2 separate regions of the Homo sapiens genome follow, and region 2 is linked to region 1. The links are contacts of gene promoters, found by promoter capture Hi-C in human tissues and cell types (Jung and others, 2019). All regions are on one chromosome and are shown on one strand. The core of a region is centred on a gene start or on the middle of the fragment in contact, and the rest is flanking DNA. Distances in the headings are between cores, read along the strand shown. Region 1 holds the start of ENHO (energy homeostasis associated). Region 2 overlaps KIF24 (kinesin family member 24).

What was found. Contacts are between HindIII fragments. The study calls those that stand out against the background at their distance.
Region 2: a contact is called between a fragment that was not itself captured here and the fragment with the promoter of ENHO in region 1, in 4 of the 25 tissues and cell types used here (adrenal gland, dorsolateral prefrontal cortex, heart right ventricle and 1 more).

The regions. Positions count from the first base shown.
Region 1 is chr9:34,521,503-34,524,384 of GRCh38, reverse strand. It overlaps ENHO (energy homeostasis associated), which reads left to right and starts at 1,395. Exons shown (of 2, transcript NM_198573.3): 1 at 1,395-1,608; 2 at 2,529-2,882. The coding sequence starts at 2,690. RefSeq lists silencers at 970-1,339, 1,360-1,469 and an enhancer at 2,099-2,651. The HindIII fragment of the contact is 6,325 bases long and covers 1-2,882 here.
Region 2 is chr9:34,262,563-34,265,444 of GRCh38, reverse strand. It overlaps KIF24 (kinesin family member 24), which reads left to right. Exons shown (of 13, transcript NM_194313.4): 9 at 2,273-2,344. Among named protein-coding and RNA genes, the nearest start is that of KIF24, 65 kb to the left of the region's middle. The HindIII fragment of the contact is 4,375 bases long and covers 1-2,882 here.

The DNA.
Region 1 (2,882 bases), core at 146-2,645:
CAGGGGTCTTATGTGAATTTCATGGCATTGGATTGGGGGAAGGGGCCTCTTAGTCACATGGTCCTGGGGGTTGTGTCAGCTGGCATTTGCTGAGATGTGATCGATCTGCTATAAATTAGTGAATAACAACCCTGAGAGGTAGCATTACAACCATTTTACAGATGAGGAAGCTGAGGCTAAGAGAGATTTAGTAACTTGCTCAAGATCACAAAGTTAGTAAGTGAACCAGGAATCAATACTGCCCCGATTACAGTAGGCACTTAGTTATATGAGTCTAGGATTCCAGAGAGAAGTTAAGGCTAGACTTGGGAGCACTGGGAGTCTTCATGATATAGCTTCAGGGATGTGATCCTCCAAGGAGAGCATGTAGAGCGGGATGAGAAGACGGCCGGATCAGAATAGGTGACAATCACTGGCCTGTGAAGGTCGGGGAGGACAAGGTCTACCTCACTGCTCCTGTCCAAGCTATCTTCTTCTTAGGGGAGCTTTTAGGATGGCAAGGCAGGATTTCCACCACGCCTGCACCTATTCCAGCCAGGGCAGAACCATCGCTCAGGACACTCCATTTCTGTCCCAGACTCCCCAACAGCCTGGCAGCAAGCCTGCGACCAACACTGGGTAGGAACTCAGTAAATGTGTCCAAAGAACCTGTGTTGCCAGAGATTTTCACACCTCTTAGGGCCAGGGAACCTGGGGCCCTCTAAAGTGGGAATGCAGAGTCCACACCCAGGTGGCAGAGGGAAGTGCGGGACTGCACTATAGGCGGTTCCCTAGGTGAGGAGATTCAGTCTCCTGCCAGGTGTGGGGACGCGGGGCCTTCCTCCGGATGACTTACTTAAGAGACCTCTCCCAGATACAGAGGGGTGGTTTCCTCACATGTGGAAATGCAGAGGCCTTGGCCTTTCTCGGATGTGGGGTGTACAACCCTTCCAGGTGTAGAAGGTGCAAGAAATCCCTACCAGAGGTTAGGCCTTGCCCCCACCCCATCCCCTCTCCCGGGAAGGATCCAGGGCCAGCTACTCCTTCGGCCCTCCTCCCGCCCCGCGCCGGCACGAGAGGCGGGCTGGTCCCCACCTCAGCGCACCACCAATGGTGCGGGAACCGGGGTTCGGCCAGCCAATTGAGTGGCGGCAGCGGCGCTGGGATGGCTCCGCCCCCGGGCCGCAGGCCGCCGGCCTCCCAGGAGGCGAGGCTCTTCGCTGTTTTTGCTGGCCGCCGAGCCCGGCCGAGCCCAGCCGAACGTAGCCGAGCCCAGCCGAGCCCAACCGAACGCAGCCGAGCCCAGCCGAACACCGCGCAGCTCCCGCCGCCGCCGCCCGAGCGCTGCCGAGCGAGCGAGCGCCGCGGCCGCGGAGGAGGTGCGGCCCCAAGGGGAGGAGGTGCCCGCTCACCGCAGACCGCCCGCGGCAGAGGCCGCCCCGGTCGCGCCGCGGCGGGAGCGGCCGGTGGAGGCTGCGCGGCCGAGGGGGAGGGCCGGGGGAGCGGACGTCGCCTCTGCTGGTCTCCCACCTCCCGCCGCCCCCCGCCCGCAGGCTCCCAAGCCTTAGTCGGCGCCGAGCATCCCGCTGCCCCGGACCCTCCCGCGGGCGCGCACCAGGCTCAACTCAGGTAAGAAGGGCCTCCCGCCACGGGCACGGGGGCCAAGAACACGCGACCCGAAGATGGAGATAAAGAGACAGAGACACACTGCCGCGGAGAGAGACGAACACAAAGACAGAGACACAGGAACCACCGAAAAGACCCCACGGAGAAGGGGATAGGGACACGTCCATGGGAACAGAGGGGGATACAGCCTGGAAGAGAGAGAGAGACACAGAGACTGATGCAGAGATACACAGAGACACACTGGTAGAGAAATGAGACATAGAGGAGACATACTCAGAGATGGGGACACACGGAGAGGCAGCCACACACACAGAGGTGGGTGTGCAGAGGCACAGGCACACATCCAACGGAGGGACAGTGAGACACCAGACACACACACACACCTGACCCAGAGAGGCAGCCCCACATAGAGGCACACAGCCCTGGACGCACAGAGCCTGCACATGCCTGCCAGGGCCTCCACAAAGTTCCCTCTGTGCAAGCTGGCGCCTCTGGAGGTCTCCTGGTCGGGCTGGCTGGAGTCCTGGGAGAGAGGAGGCGCCCAGGCCACACCAGAGCTGCTTACAACCCCCATCCTTTTGGGCTGGGGGCTTCCTGGATCCCACCCACCAACAGAGGGCTTTTGAGGGCTGCAAGCTTGGTGGGCAGGACCAGGGCATGCCCACCAGGTCTAAGGAGAATGAGATGACGGCTGCCTACTGCAGCTTCCCCACGGTGGCTACACACTCATTCAGGTGGCCAGAACCAAGCCTGTGGATGGGGGTGATGGCTCTGTGGGGTATTCGAGCCTGTTGGGACCCAAGGTCTTTCACCAGGGAGGCCAGAAATGTGGGAGGGAGGCTCTCTTCCCTACCTCTCTCCTCCTAGGCCTCACCCCACCCTTCCTCCTCACCACCCTCTCCTTTACTGTATACCCCCAACAGGCTCAGGACTGCAGGTAGACATCTCCACTGCCCAGGAATCACTGAGCGTGCAGACAGCACAGCCTCCTCTGAAGGCCGGCCATACCAGAGTCCTGCCTCGGCATGGGCCTCACCATTGAGGCAGCTCCACTGTCTGTGCTGGTCTGAGGGTGCTGCCTGTCATGGGGGCAGCCATCTCCCAGGGGGCCCTCATCGCCATCGTCTGCAACGGTCTCGTGGGCTTCTTGCTGCTGCTGCTCTGGGTCATCCTCTGCTGGGCCTGCCATTCTCGCTCTGCCGACGTTGACTCTCTCTCTGAATCCAGTCCCAACTCCAGCCCTGGCCCCTGTCCTGAGAAGGCCCCACCACCCCAGA
Region 2 (2,882 bases), core at 164-2,663, 260 kb after region 1:
TAATCCCAGCATTTTGGGAGGCCAAGGAAGGAGGATCACTTGAGCCCAGGAGTTCAGGACCAGCCTGGGCATCACAGGGAGACCCCTGTCTTTACAAAACATTTACAAATTAGCTGGGTGTGGTGGTGCGCACCTGTAACCCAAGCTACTTGGGAGGCTGAGGTGAGAGGATCACTTGAGTCCAGGTATTCAAGGCAGCAGTGAGCTGTGATTGTGCTACTGCACTCCAGCCTGAGATACAAAGTGAGACCCCATCTCTTAAACAAACAGCAAAAAGCAAAAAAAATTATGTGGTTTTAAAGTAAAAATTGTAAAATAAGCCACATTCAAAGAAGTATAGTTTCCATCCCTGTACTCTCAACCTTGTTACCTTCCTCCCCTTGTAAAATCATTTTTCTGTCTATATATATGTTTGCACTCACCCCTTTTCTTAGAAAAAATGCTAACATACTCTCAACACTATTTTGCACTTCGCTTTTGTCACTTAACGGCATCCTCAAGATCACTGCATGACTGTACATAGAGCTCTTCCTCATTCCTTTTTCCAGTTGTATATGCTGCCTTGTGCTGCTCCACATTATTTACTTATTTTTTATCAGAACTGAAGTCTCCAGGTAGGTACATTCTTTCCAGACTTCATGAGGGGTAAGTTGGGAGGGTGAGAGAGGGAGCCAAACTTTTTTTATTTAAAAAAAGAAAAAAAGCTTGTAGGGATTGGTGGCCACGCTTGAATTTGAGTCTGTGAGGAACAGGGTTTGATTACTTGTTCGTTCTCAGTGGAGAATCTTCTCAGTGCTAAAGTTGGGGAATACTGGATAGATTTTTAATAAAAGAGGAAATTTCCTCACACCTGTTTATACCCTGCAGCTTCTTGGATAGAGGTAGGGCAGTTGCGGGCATCTGTGGCTGCTGCTAAGAACAGCCATAGCACACTCTGGAGGCAAACTACCTATTCTTGGTGGCAATTCCAAGGGATTGCTTCCACCTTCTTCCCTCTTTTTTTTTTTTTTCTCTTGAGACGGAGTCTCGCTCTGTCACCCAGGCTGGAGTACAGTGGCATGATCTCAGCTCACTGCAACCTCTACTTCCCAGGTTCAAGCTTTTCTCCTTTCTCAGCCTCCTGAGTAACTGGGATTACAGGCATGTGCCACCATGCCCGGCTAATTTTTTTTTTTTTGTATTTTTAGTAGAGACAGGGTTTCACCATGTTGGCCAAGCTGGTCTCGATCTCCTGAGCTCAAATAATCTGCCCGCCTCAGCCTCCCAAAGTGCTGGGATTACAGGCATGAGCCACTGCACCCAGCTCCTTTTCTTTTCTTTTACTATCTTTTAGCCTAGATGCATCACTCAGAAATAGAAGGTCTCTCCTCCCTCATCTTGCCCCCCACGACCCCCACCACTGTTTCTGATGGGAGTGTTTCCCCTGGAGGTCCACATATCCAGATCTCTGCTGTCCTTATCATGTCCAATGAGCGCTTCTCACTGAGGGAGTACAGCCATGAGCAAGGAACATTCCTTTGCCTTTGGGCCACAGACCCTGCTGTTTTTAAATGAAGGGTCGTTTTTAATTGTGTGTGGTCAAAGTGCTGGCTGTAATCCCAGCACTCCAGGAGGCTGAGGCAGGAGGATCATTTGAGGCCAGGAGTTTGAGACCAGCCTGGGCAACAATATACAGAGACCCCCATCTCTACAAAAAAAAAAAAAAATTAAGAAAAAAATAAATAAAACGAGGGGGTAGGCCTAGGTGATTTCTCAGTTTCCTTCTAGCTCTGGCTCTAGAATTTCTCCTACCCCATTCAGATAGTTTATATCTGAATCTATGCTTGACTCTACGCCAACGGGTGTGCATGTGTGAGCAGGGAGTGGGGAAGTGGATATAGATATTTTGTCTGTTTAAGTGCATCAACAGTTGGGAAGAATGTGAGGAGAGAAAGGGAGCCAGCAAGCCAGAACTACCACCACATGAGCTTGAACTCTGGGACTTGAGGGTAGGTCCCAGCGTCTGTCTGTTCCCCGCCGTCAACTCAGGGGCAGTCCTAGGATCCCAGCCTCTAAGCTGGGAGGCCTTCAGCTAGGCAGCACAGGATGGTGTTTCCCAATCTAGCTTGGTTTCTCTTGTTGAATGGAAACTACAGGCCATTTTGACTTCCTTTTGGAGGATTGTCTGAGTGTGGTTTATTGAAGAAAAACAAGCTTCCTGTGGAGGCGGCATCAGGTCTGTTACTCTCCCTTTGCACTTGATACTTGATGTGCTTGTTCTCCCACTTTGCAGCTGAAGGAATGTATCCGAGCACTGGATCAGGAACACACCCATACTCCCTTCAGGCAAAGCAAACTAACTCAGGTAAAGTTAAATGTGAGCCTTGAGTTTGTTCTGATTCATTCCTTTCTTCCTTATTTCATGTATTTGTTCATTCAGTCGAGCATCCACTGTCAGTAAGACATGATGCTGGGCACAGTGGGGAAAAGAGAAGGAGAGGAGTGAAATTCCATCCAGGAACTCTGTCTACAAGTTGAGTATCATTAATCTAAAAATCTGAAATCTGAAATGCTTCAAAAATCAAAACTTTTTGTTGTTGTTTTTGAGACAGGGTCTTACTCTGTCACCCAGGCTAGAGTGCAGTGGTGTGATCTTGGCTTACTGTGGCCTCTGCCTCCCAGGCTCAAGCAATCCTCCCACCTCAGCCTCCCAGGTAGCTGGGACTACAGGCATATGCCATCATGCCTGGCCATATATATATATATATATATATATATATATATATATATTTTTTTTTTTTTTTTTTTTTTTTTTTTTTTTGGTAGAGACAGGGTTTCACCATGTTGCCTAGGCTGGCCTCGAACTCCTGAGCTCAAACGATCCGCCTGCCTCAGCCTTCCAA